Regions from separate parts of the Homo sapiens genome. Here all the other regions are linked to region 2. The links are contacts of gene promoters, found by promoter capture Hi-C in blood cells and fetal thymus (Javierre and others, 2016). All regions are on one chromosome and are shown on one strand. Each heading gives the region's core, a stretch centred on a gene start or on the middle of the fragment in contact. The rest is flanking DNA. Distances are from core to core; before and after follow the strand shown. Region 1 overlaps POR (cytochrome p450 oxidoreductase). Region 2 holds the start of SRRM3 (serine/arginine repetitive matrix 3). Region 3 has its middle 4.2 kb from the start of RHBDD2.

The links. The method cuts DNA at HindIII sites, captures the fragments that hold promoters and counts their contacts. A CHiCAGO score of 5 or more calls a contact.
Region 1: a fragment that was not itself captured here is called in contact with the fragment with the promoter of SRRM3 in region 2 in 1 of 17 cell types (endothelial precursors); the score reaches 5.1 in endothelial precursors.
Region 3: a contact is called between a fragment that was not itself captured here and the fragment with the promoter of SRRM3 in region 2, in 2 of 17 cell types (M0 macrophages and naive CD4 T cells). The highest score is 6.0, in M0 macrophages.

What each region holds. Positions count from the first base shown.
Region 1 is chr7:75,920,598-75,924,942 of GRCh38, reverse strand. All of the region lies in intron 1 of POR (cytochrome p450 oxidoreductase), which reads right to left. It also overlaps the pseudogene RPL7L1P3. Among named protein-coding and RNA genes, the nearest start is that of MIR4651, 7.6 kb to the right of the region's middle. The HindIII fragment of the contact is 251 bases long and covers 1,454-1,704 here.
Region 2 is chr7:76,200,646-76,204,823 of GRCh38, reverse strand. SRRM3 (serine/arginine repetitive matrix 3) reads right to left here and starts at 2,928. Exons shown (of 15, transcript NM_001110199.3): 1 at 2,757-2,928. RefSeq lists a silencer at 2,842-3,081. The HindIII fragment of the contact is 9,812 bases long and covers 1,143-4,178 here.
Region 3 is chr7:75,872,815-75,876,870 of GRCh38, reverse strand. No RefSeq gene overlaps it. Among named protein-coding and RNA genes, the nearest start is that of RHBDD2, 4.2 kb to the left of the region's middle. The HindIII fragment of the contact is 6,386 bases long and covers 1-4,056 here.

The sequences.
Region 1 (4,345 bases), core at 330-2,829, 280 kb after region 2:
GACCTTGGTTCAAAACCTAGATATGCCACCTATGCACTCTGGGATCCTGGGCACACGATTTATCACAGTCCGTCTCCGGGATGACCATGCTCACAGTGCTACGTTGGTTACATGAGACATAAACACCCAGCGCAGACACTCAACGGTTACACTCAACTCCTTTTATTTTCATTAGAATTTTCTATTATTTATTTATTTGGGGAATTTTCTATTTTTCATTTATTACTGTATATTTTGAGATGGGGGTCTCACTCTATCACCCAGGTTGGTGTGCAGTGGTCTGATCATGGCTCACTGCAGCCTCAACCTCCCTGGGCTCAGGTGATCCTCCCACCTCAGCCTCCCAAGTAGTTGGGATGACAGGTACACACCACCACACCCAGCTAATTTTTAAACACTGATGTTTAAAAACACTAATTTTTAAATAGAGATGGTGTTTTGCCATGTGGCCCAGGATGGTCTTGAATTCCTGGGCTCTAGTGATCCGTCCACCTCGGCCTCCCACAGTGCTAAGATTATAAGCATGAGCCACTGTGCCAGGCCCTAGGATTTTTAAAATAAACAAATTTATTCATGTCTTCAGCATCCAGGTAACTGATCTAGAAAGATTTAGAGTCAGAATATTCTTCTTCAATTATAAAATGATTACTGAATAAATTATCAACTACAGAAGGAACTTGAGACACAATTTTTCTTTTCTTTTTTTTTGCAGAGACAAGTGAGCATTTATTTTTGTGCCTTTCTTCCTATGTATATTTCAAGCCTTTTTCAAGGCCCCAGGAATCTCCGGATTCAATTATGTCCCCGGGCTTGGTCGACTGCTGCAGGACTCTTAGGGAGCCTTGTACAAATGCTAGAGTTACTCATTCACCAACATTAAACCCTAGGATAGAAGATGCAACAAAGCAAGACTCCTTTCTCCACAAAATGTGATTTCAGACAAGGCAGCAGCCAACGTAGAAAACGCTGGAATTTTTCCTTGGAACTGGACTGTGATGAGAGGTGCCGCCATGAACGTAAGCTACTGTCTTTTCTTTTCTTTTTTTTTTTTTTTGAGATGGAGTTTCGCTCTTGTTGCCCAGGCTGGAGGACAAAGGTCTGATCTTGGCTCACCACAACCTCCGCCTCCCGGGTTCAAGCGATTCTCCTGCCTCAGCCTCCCCAGTAGCTGGGATTACAGGCGTGTGCCACCACGCTCAGCTAATTTTTGTATTTTTAGTAGAGACGGGGTTTCTCCATGTTGGTCAGGCTGGTTTCGAACTCCCGACCTCAGGTGATCTGCCCGCCTCAGCCTCCCAAAGTGCTAGGATTATAGGCGTGAGCCACCGGGCCCGGCCAGCCACTGTCTTTCCTTTGACCCTTCCTTTACAGTTTTTGAAGATAAAGCAGGAAATAATCTTCTCTGAAGATACTTGATAAAAATTCCACCCCGCCCCCAAAAATAACACAAGCTTCCAGTTCATTGATAAAAATTTACTGTAGTTTGGCACCTGGCTCTAGTTCAGCTGGCGGATGAGCTGATTGATGCACACACCCCCAAGAAGATGGAGGTGTGCCAATCTCCTTCAGAAAGTCCACTATTTTTGGTAGCATGACAGTCCACTGAGAGGTGGAAAGGGGACAAGAACCATGAGATCTCCTGGAAATGCTTCCTTGGGAAGGCAATTTCATGAATGAGGTCTTCCAAGCAAAAGACACCAAGCTTTCCCAGGTGCTCCTCAATCACTGTGTTGTCAGAGGGATGGTCTTATTCTTGACCTTGGCTTGTCTACGTTTCAAAATGAGTTTCTGGACAGACTTCAGATTTGGAAATCCCCAGGTCACATAAGGTTACATACTATACGCTGCATTTTTAGGTTTAAGTCTTGCAATGGCTCTCCGCACCAGTAAACTCACACCATCAATCCTTTCGACGCGTACAACAAAGGCCAAGGAATGTTTATCTGGCGATTCCAAGGTGTGAGGTTTTACTTCTAGTCGTCTGAGACACACCTTGTCATGTTTCTGCCGCCAGGAATCATGTAGGAATGATTCCAGTCGTTTAAACCTGAGCTCTTTTCCTTCCCTCTGCTCCTCCTTTGCCAAAAGTGCCTACTTTGACTGGGTGGCTTTGAGGCCTTGATAAGCCTTCTGCTTTCAGGAGATTTTCTGGAGCCAAAGGGATTTTTCTTTGCTCCTGCTTTGCCATCTTTCTAGTGTTGCAGCTACTGAACATGCGCAACCCCACCACTGACACAAAATTTTATACCTGGATGGAAAACTAAAGTCCTACCAAAAGTTCCTACTGTACTTTGGAATAATCTTCAGAAGTACAGACCAGGCCAGGCGCAGTGGCTCACGCCTGTAATCCCAGCACTTCGGAAGGCCGAGGCGGGCAGACTGCTTCAGGTCAGGCATTCGAGACCAGCTGGGCAACATGGTGAAACCCCATCTGTACTAAAATTACAAAAAATTAGCCAGGCATGATGGCACACACCTATAATTCCAGCTACTCAGGAGGTTGAGGCACGAGAATTGCTTGAACCCAGGAGGCAGAGGTTGCAGTGAGCCAAGATTGCGCCACTGCACTCCAGCCTGGGCGACAGAGTGACAGGCTCTGTCTCAAAAAAAAAAAAAAAAAAAACTACAGATCAGACCCAATTTTGACATCTGAGCTCAGTCAATATGCAGGAGAAAGCTCAGCAGTAAACTTGGGGGACAGAAGCCATATTTATTCATTCATCCATTCATCCAAGTGCCTACCTTATGCCTGGCATTGTTCTATGCCCCAGCTTACACTCGCAGAAATGATAGGTTCCCTGTTCTCAACTGAATTCACCTTCTAGTCCAACCGTATTGCCACTAGGGAGGGGAGAATTAGACACCTTTTATTAAGTCACTGTTTATCCTTTATGAAAGCAGATGAAGAAGAAAACATGCAATAAGACAGTGACAGTGACCGGGCACAGTGGCTCCTGCCTATTATCCCAGCACTTTGGGAGGCTGAGCTGGGTGGACCACTTAAGGCCAGGAGTTCGAGACTGGCCTGGCCAACATGGTGAAACCCTGTCTCTACTAGAAATACAAAAATTAGCTAGGTGTGGAGGCACGTGCCTGTAGTGCCAGCTACTCGGGAGGCTGAGGCAGGAGAATCACTTGAACCTGACAGGTGGAGGTTGCAGTGAGCCAAATCGTGCCACTGCACTCCAGTCTGGGCGAAGAGAAAGGAGGGGTGACCGAAGCAGGGTTCCAAGATCAACCAGCAATGGTACCATGGACAGATCTTGGAACGTGGTAGGGAGGGGAAGAGAGGGAGAATTATGGGTCAATTACGGGTCAGCGCAGCAGGAAGTGACAAGGGGCTACAGTAAGACCACAGCAGTGGAAAGAGATTTAAAGGGCCGGGCGTGGTGGCTCACGCCTGCTGTAATCCCAGCACTTTGGGAGGCCGAGGCAGGCAGATCGCCTGAGGTCAGGAGTTCGAGACCAGCCTGGCCAACACAGTGAAACCCTGTCTCTACTAAAAATACAAAAATTAGCTGGGCGCGGTGCCGCGCACCTATAATCCCAGCTACTCGGGAAGCTGAGGCAGGAGAATCACTTGAACCTGGGAGGCAGAGGTTGCAGTGAGCTGAGATTGTGTCACTGCACTCTGAACAACAGAGCAAGAATCTGTCTCAAAAAAAAAAAAAAAAAAAGACTAAAAACTTACAGGACTTGGTGGTGGTGGGAGACCCAGAATGGAGAGGAAGGGAAAAGGGACAGGAGTCTTTTGTCCTTGGAGCTTCAGGGCCCAGGAAGTCGGTGAGGCCACTGACAGATAGAGCTCTTGTTGTGGAGGTTTCGGGTAGATGGGCTGGGAGCTTTTGATCACTGCTGTGACGCTGAATGACTCCTGAGTTTGCAAATCACGTTACGTAAGGAACGCGTCCAACGTGTCCATGTTAAGACTGTGTGGTTTCATGAGCAGTCAAAGGGTCTGAAGCCCTTCACCAAAACCAACAGTGGCTTTTCTCCACAAGACCACAAATACCTGACGGAACATTCCTGATGCCAAACTGCACTCTGAATGATGCCGGGCACCACTGGCTAATGCACTCTCCTGTGTATTCAAGAACTGCCATCCCTGTTTGCAGTGTTGAAAACTCAACCCAGGTGACCTATGGTCACTACATATGAGTTCAGAAAGTTCAGAAAGGTGACCGTAGTTCACGTGTTCCTAACCAAACCTGCAAACCTTTGTACAGGCCCGGCTTACCCAATGCACTGATGATGCATGCCCACGAAGATCAAAGTATCACTAGGACACAGTGCTCTAAGAACACCGGCATCACCACCGCAGAGGTGATGTGACGTGAGCTCAGAA
Region 2 (4,178 bases), core at 1,679-4,178:
TAGGATTACAAGTGTGAGCCACTGCACCTGGCATTAAACCCCATCATTTTAGGGTTGGGGACACTGAGGCCAAGAGGTGGGAAGGGACCCCTTCAAGGTCATACAGGGAGCCAGGATCAGAGATAGGGCCAGAAAGAAGGTCCTTGGACTCATGTTCAAGAGTCCTTCAGTTGCCTTCACCATGTGCCACCCACCTCTCCAACACTCACTGGCCTACAGTGCCTGGATTGATTCTCGCCCTGGGGAGCCTGGAGAATCGGGGGCAGAGTGGTGTTGTGGAAGTCATCCTGGGGTCCTGAGGCAGTGGGGTTGGGTTGCACCAAGACCTTGCTCTGTGACTTTGGGAAAGTCCCATCACACCTTCAGGCCTTGTTTTTCTCCTATGTGAAAGGGAGACAGCAGCACCTTTGGGTCCAGGTTATGTGAGGATGAGATGAGATCATGTATACGAAGTTACAGGACCATGGGCAGAGGCTCAGTGTATGTGTAGGAGTGAAGAAAGAGGGGCTGGGCTTCTCTAACCTCCCCATTGGTGCCCCTGGAAGGCTTCTGAGACAGGAAGAGCTATGATTTTGTCCCTGGGGGACAATAAAATATGGGCAGAGGAGGGAGAAAAGTCAGGAAGGGAGGCTGACCCCAGCAGCGCTAGTAGCTGCTCCTGGCCATGGACCATCTCAGGAGGTGAGGGTGAACCACTAAGAAAGGAAGGAGCAGTCACTGGCTGGCAGAGGTCAGCAAGAGGTTGGGAGGCAGAGGAGGTGCAGAACGGGTGCAGCAGTGAGCAGATGGGACTGTCAGACCCAGACCCCCCCTTTGGCAGGTGTGACGGGGTAGAGGCACCCCGCTGGCCGGTTCAAGGCACATTCTACCTCTAAGTATCCCAGTGACCTTGTGGGAGTCACCTCCTTACTGCACTGTATGCCCTCACCCACCTGCCTCAGGCTCCCCACCTGTAAAGCTGGCATCATAAATCAAGACACTGGCATTGAACTGGGCCTTGATACTCAGAGGATGGGACAGGTCATCAGTAACTCTCCTGCCTCCAGGAGGACAGCGCGAGTGGCTTCATGACCTTGGGAAAGTCACTCAAGCTTCATTTCTCAGCTATGAAATAGGGACAATGATGCCTTCCTCATGAAGCTTCTGTGAGGATTAGCTGAGTCAACCGTTGCATTGTGCCCAGCATGGAGCTGGGCATGAGGCTCTCAACCACTGTTCATCTCCTCTGGGAACAGAAAAATGTGCTTCAAATATCACTGAACACTATTCCACATTTATCCAGCTCTTCTTTAAGAAATTCTTACTTGTCTCCTATTTACTAACACTCACCCAGCATTTTATACCGTAAAAGTAGTCTCCCATCTCCTTATCCAGATTATTTCTTTCAACAGCAAAGTAGACATTGCTAACACTACACCTGTTTTACAGATTGAAAACAGACTCAGAAAGGTCAATGGCTTACCTGAGGTCACATAACCTAGATTTGATCCCATGTCTTTCTGACATCAGAGTCCATGACTCCCAACCCACATACCCCTACCTCTTAAAACCCAGTTGACTCTTTAGTCAGTCTTCAAGAATACCTCCTCCACCCCACAGGAGAGTGGGATGGGGCATAAAGTTAAGGAACCAGAAAGCTACTGCTGTGTGGGAACAATTTCCTAGCCAGCTGGGTCCTATTTTTGACTGAGGAAGAAGCTGGCACAAACTGGGGCCATGACCTTAAGATGCTCCCTGGACAGAGGAACTTGTGCACGTCTCTCCGTCAAAGCCCAGCACCTGCCTTTTCTCTTGCCATGGGACAAAAGACCAGCTCAAGCCCCCGATGCTAGGGTGAGTGAGGTCTTAGGACAGCGAGAAGTTATGGCTGGGATAGGGCACAGGCATTGAAGTACCACGTCAGACCTTGGTACAACCTTCCCTTCCTCCCACTAAATCTCTCCCCACAATGGATCTGCTGTCAGGAGTAGGAACTGCAGGAGGCTTCAACACTGTCCAGGCAGGAGCCCTGGGAGGGAGGGGGAGGCGGAGGCAAGGCAGAGGCTGCGTCTTTTCTCAGCTCTCTTCTTTACCAGGAATTCACTCTGGCGCAGGTCTAACTCTGGGCTAGAAACTCTCTCTGGGCGTCCGTGGTTGGGGTGGGGGGTGTGCACAGAGAACCCCCTCCCAAATTCCTAGTAGCTATTTTCTCTTCTGTGTCCTCCATCCTCTTCCCAGTGCAAGAGTAAATGCCATCCTGTGAGACCCAGTTCTCCTTGCCAGCTCCTGCCTCCCTAGGGGCATTTGGGTAGCCGGGAAAGGGGCCAGGCTGTCCCCTGGGCCGGCACCTCCTGCTGGACAGAGGCCCAGCATCCAGGTGGGGGCCTGCTCCCTTCACCAGGGCCAGTGACCAGCATCTCCACAGGGTTACTGCATCGGTCCTCCCTTCCCTGGGGAGCAGGTCCTTCTCCTCAGTGGGACTGCGGTTGGGGGGCCTCCCTGGCACCCTCATGGACTAGGCCATGGTCATTTATGCCCAGGGGAGTCCTGCCCATGACCCCAAAGGTCTCCACTGTCTCCATCCCTCTCAGTGAAATGAATGTTCCTCATCTCTGCTCCCCGGGCGCCTGGCACCCCCGGACAGACGCCCTCGCCGACCTCCCACACTGCCCCTCTGCTCGGGGGAGCCTGCAGACCACGGGGGTGCTGGGGAGGCCCGAGCTTCCACCCAGCCCCAGCCCCTCGGGGATATGCCCCCGCCCCACAGGCGCTCTCACCTCACCGCTGACCGCCGCGATCTACCGGGCGCTGGGGCCAGGCCCTCGGGTCCCGCCGGTCCGGGCTGCCGCCTAGTCTGGGCTGAGTTGGGCAGGGCAGCTCCGCGGCCCCCACGGCCCCGCACCCTCTGCCTCCCCGCGGGTGCTGCCGCCGCTTGCTGAAATGCTGGACAGCGCACCGCCACCGAGGCGCCTCTCTGCTCGCCCGCCAGCCAGAGCGGCCCAGCCCCGCGCCCGCAGCGCCCTCCGCAGGCCTGGAGGAACGCCCGCAGCGGAGGCAACAGCCCGGGCGGCTGGGCCGGGCCGTCTCCCGGCCGGCTCCCCCTCCTCCCCGCCCCCTTCGCCCCCCTCCCCCCCTTCCCCTCGCCCCTCACCTCCCCACACCCCCGCCCCTATCCCCAGCCCCCGGGGACATCTGTTTCCCCCACTTGCGAGAGGAGGCATGTCAGCCCTGGAAGGCGCCTGGGGCAAGGGAGGTTATTAGTTTGGATCTGGGAAATGCAGTCGGTGTGCAGAGGCCTCGCCAGGACACTCTCTTCCCACCCAGTGTTAAAGAAGGCACCAGGGGCTGGGCGCGGTGGCTCACGCCTATAATCCCAGCACTTTGGGAGACTGAGGCGGGAGGATCACTTGAGGCCAGGAATTCGAGACCAGCCTGGCCAACATGGTGAAACCCAGTCTCTACTAAAAATACAAAAATTAGCCAGGCGTGGTCGCAGGCACCTGTAATCCCAACTACTCAGCTACTTGGGAGGCTGAGGCAGGAGAATCGCTTGAATCTGGGAGGCGGAGTTGCAGTGAGCCAAGATCGCACCATTGCACTCCAGACTGGGCGACAAGAGCAAGACTTAGGGTCAAAAATAAAATAAAATAAAATAAAATAAAAGGCACCAGGGAGGTGAGGTGGGAGGATCGCTGGAGCCCAGGAATTTGAGGCTGCAGTGACCTATGGTGGCGCCACTGCACTCCAGCCTGAATGACAGAGGCTGTCATTTTTTGACACCATCTCAAAAATTTAAAAAAAAAAAAAGGAGGGTGTAGTGTGAGAGACATCCTAATGGAGACAGGAGATTTTAAATTATTTTTTTAAATTTTAAAATTTTGGCTGGATGCAGTGGCTCACATCTGTAATCCTAACATTTTAGGAGGCTGAGGTGGGAAATCACTGAGCTCAGGAGTTTGAGACCAGCCAGGCCAACATGAGGAAACCCTGTCTCTATGAAAAATACAAAAATTTGCCAGATGTGGTGGCATGCATGCACCTGTGGTCCCAGCTACTTGGGAGGCTGAAGTGGGAGGAAGGCTTGAGCCTGAGAAGCGAAGGTTGCAGTGAACCAAGATTGCTCCATTGCACTCCATCCTAGGTGACAGAGCCTCAATTTGTCTCAAAAACAAAAACAAAACAAAAAAACAAAAACAACA
Region 3 (4,056 bases), core at 91-2,590, 330 kb after region 2:
AGCTAGCTGCTTCTTTTTTGTAGAGATGGGATCTTGCTCTGTTGCCCAGGCTGGTCTTGAACTCCTGGGCTTAGGCAATCGTCCCGCCTTGGCCTCCCAAAGTGCTGGGATGACAGGTGTGAGCCACCATGCCTAGCCTGTTGTGTGCTTTTTATGTAGTTACTCATTACATTTTCACAACCCTTGTGAGGCTGGTTCTGTAATTACGCCCGTTTTACAGATGAAGCAATGGAGATACAGAGAAGTTAAGTAACTTAAAATTAGGCAACAAGTCTTCCAGGAATTTTTTTTTTTTTTTTTTGAGACGAAGTCTTGCTCTGTCACCCAGGCTGGAGTGCAGTGCTGTAATGTCTGTTCACTGTAACCTCCTCCTCCCTGGTTCAAGCAGTTCGCTGCCTCAGCCTCCTGAGGCACTTCCCATATTATACTATCATTGCATATTTGTGCCCGTAATTGTGAGCTTACCAAGGGCAGAAGCCATGTCTGATTTATACCTGTGTCTGTATCCACAGCCCTGGCACCTAGCACACAGTGGGGCCACAGAAAATGTTCAATGCAAAGTTATTAGCCCTGATGCCTTTGGGATGTGACCTACTTCCCTTCCTTGTCTCTTGTCCAGAAGCCGAGGGTTCTCACGTAATTGAGACCCCTGGGGACTGTTATAACAACAGCCACCATCCCGAATGCATTTCACACTGAATTTCTGGCAAGAATTTCAAGATATTTTTTGAAGAGGAGACCTGAGGTACACCAGTCTAGGATGGCATGGCCAGTCAGCCCACCTAGCTCTCTGTAGAAAGAGTTTTCTGCATTTGCTGTGCAGAGGGTTTAGGCTCGGAGAGGGCAGTTGCAGGAGATATTCACGTTTCCCTTAAGGGAAACCTAGGATTGCAGGTGTGAGACACTGCACTTTTTTTTTTTTTTTTTGAGACTGAGTTTCGCTTTTGTTCCCCAGGTTGGAGTGCAATGGTGTGATCTTGGCTCACCGCAACCTCCGCCTCCCCGGTTCAAGCGATTCTCCTGACTCAGCGTCCCGAGTAGCTAGGATTACAGGCATGCGCTAGCATGCCCGGTTAATTTTGCATTTTTAGCAGAAACGGGGTTTCACCATGATGGTCAGGCTGGTCTCGAACTCCCGATCTCAGGTGATCCGCCTGAGATCTCAGCCTCCCAAAATGCTGGGATTACAGGCTTGAGCCACCACGCCCAGCCCACTGGGCCTTTTTGTTGTTGTTGTTTGTACAGACAGAGGTCTCACTATGTTGCCCAGGCTGGTCTCAAACTCTTGGGCTCAAGTGATCCTCGTGCCTGGGCCTCCCAAAGTGTTGGGATTCCAGGCATGAGCCAAGCCAAAAACCAGGAGATAAATACCATGTTATACTGGCCATTTCCTTTAATGTTCCCTTAAAGGAGACATTAATGGCTCCTACATTAGCATTTGAGAAGCAGCCAGTGTGGAGCTGGTGGAGCTCAGGCTGGAAGTCAGGAGGAAGCAGGACCTCACCCTGGCTCTTTCACTCGCTGCCTGAGTGATCTTGGGTAAGGGAGCCTCAGTTTCCTCATCTATAAAATGGGAACTAAGTCTTATCTTGCAGGGTTTTGATGAAGAAAACAGATAAGATTGACCGAGGGACGAATAGGATGTGAGGAGGTCACACTGTGAGTTAGTGGAAGAGCTAGGATTTGAACTTGGGTCATTAGATCTCTAAAGTTGTTCTATTTCTTTTTATTTTTTTGAGACAGAGTCTTACTCTGTCGCCCAGGCTGGAGTGCAGTGGCGTGATCTTGGCTCACTGCAACCTCCACCTCCCAGGTTCAAGTGATTCTCCTGCCTTAGCCTCCCCAGTAGCTGGGATTACAGGCACATGCCACCACGCCCTGCTAATTTTTGTATTTTTAGTAGAGACAGGGTTTCGCCATGTTGGCCAGGCTGCTCTCAAACTCCTGGCCTCAAGTGATCCATCTGCCTTGGCCTCCCAAAGTGCTGGGATTATAGGCGTGCGCCACTGCACCTGGCCAAGTTGTTCTATTTCTTTTTTTTTTTTGAGACGGAGTCTCGCTCTGTCGCCCAGGCTGGAGTGCAGTGGTGCGACCTTGGCTCACTACAAACTCTACCTTCCGAGTTCACGCCATTCTCCTGCCTCAGCCTCCCGAGTAGCTGGGACTACAGGCGCCCGCCACCACGTCTGGCTAATTTTTTTGTATTTTCAGTAAAGACGGGGTTTCACCATGTTAGCCAGGATGGTCTCGATCTCCTGACCTCATGATCCACCTGCCTTGGCCTTCCAAAGTGCTGGGATTACAGGCGTGAGCCCCTGTGCCCAGCCAGGTTGTTCTATTTCTACCACTACACACATCTCTACCATGGCAAGTATAACACGGTATTTACTTCCTGGTTTTTGGCCAGTCACAGCAGCTCACGCCTGTCATCCCAGCACTTTGGGAGGCCCAGGCAGGAGGATCACTTGAGCCCAAGAGTTTGAGACCAGCCTGGGCAACATAGTGAGACCCCTGTCTGTACAAACAAACAAACAAACAAACAAACAAACAAAAAAGAAAGGCTGGGTGCAGTGGCTCACACCTGTCATCCCAGCACTTTGGGAGGCCAAAGCAGGAGGATTGCTTGAGCCCACAAGTTAGAGACTAGCCTTTGGACAACATAGTGAGACCCCCATTTCTATTATATTTAAAAAAATATTTTTAAAAAAATCCTGTTTGTTGTGTCTGTCTCTCTTCCCAGACTGTGAGCTTCTTGAGGGACAGCACCATGTAGAGTCCTGCACAGAGTAGGCCTTCAGGAAATGTCTGGAAGGAAGGGAGGCAGGCAGGCAGGCTCTTTGAATTTTTTGGCTTTTGGCCGAAGTTCTTACTCCTTTTTGTCATATCTGACATATCTGATGAAACCTAGGGACTCCTCATGTAAATGATGCTTTTTTTTTTTTTTTTTTTTTTTTGAGACAGGGTCTCATTCTGTTGCCCAGGCTGGAGTGCACTGGTACAATCATAGCTCACTGCAGCCTCCAACTCCTGGGCTCAGGCGATCCTCCTGCTTCAGCATCCCGAGTACCTAGGACTACAGACACGTGCCACCACACCTGGCTAATTTTTGTATTTTTTTTTTTTTTTTTTGTAGAGACAGGGGCTCACTATGTTGTCTAGTCTGGTCTCCAACTCCTGGCCTCAAGCAATCCTCTTGCCTGGGTCTCTCAAAGTGTTGGAATTAAAGGAGTGAGCCACCACACCTGGCCAAGAATGTTGCTTTTTAAATGGATAAAATAAAATACACTGAATTACCAAGGAAGCCTGTAGTTATCAAAATATTAATAAAAACAAAATCGTGCCTGTAATCCCAGCACTTTGGGAGGCTGAGGCAGGTGGATCACCTGAGGTTGGGAGTTCAAGACCAGTCTGACCAACATGAAGAAACTCCTGTCTCTACTAAAAATACAAAAAAATTAGCTGGGTGTGGTGGTGGGCAACTGTAATCCCAGCTACTTGGGAGGCTGAGGCAGGAGAATCACTTGAACCCAGGAGGTGGAGGTTGCGGTGAGCCAAGATTGCACCATTGCACTCCAGCCTGGGCAACAAGAGCAAACCTCTATCTCAAAAAAAAACAAAAACAAAAACCATACTCTATGTGCTGCTTTATGGATGCATTAAATAACAAGATCTAACAGCAGGCCTGATAGCTACCATAATTTTGAAGCATAAATGATTTTTTTTGAGTTTTCTATAAGTGGAACATGGTATGAACATACCTGTGACTTCTACTGGTGACAAAGTTACTGGTACTGGTAATAAGACTGTGTTTCATTGCCTATATCCATAACTGATAAAATTGCTAAAGTTCAGTTAAAGATTAAGTTAACATCGCTCATGACGCAGCAGTGGGCATGAAAAATAAAGTTTTTTTTTTTTTGGAGACGGAGTCTTCCTCTGTGCCCAGGCTGGAGTGCAATGGCGTGATCTCGGCTCACTGCAACCTCTGCCTCTCGGGTTCAAGTGATTCTCCTGTCTCAGCCTCCCGAGTAGCTGGGGCTACAAGCACGTGCCGCC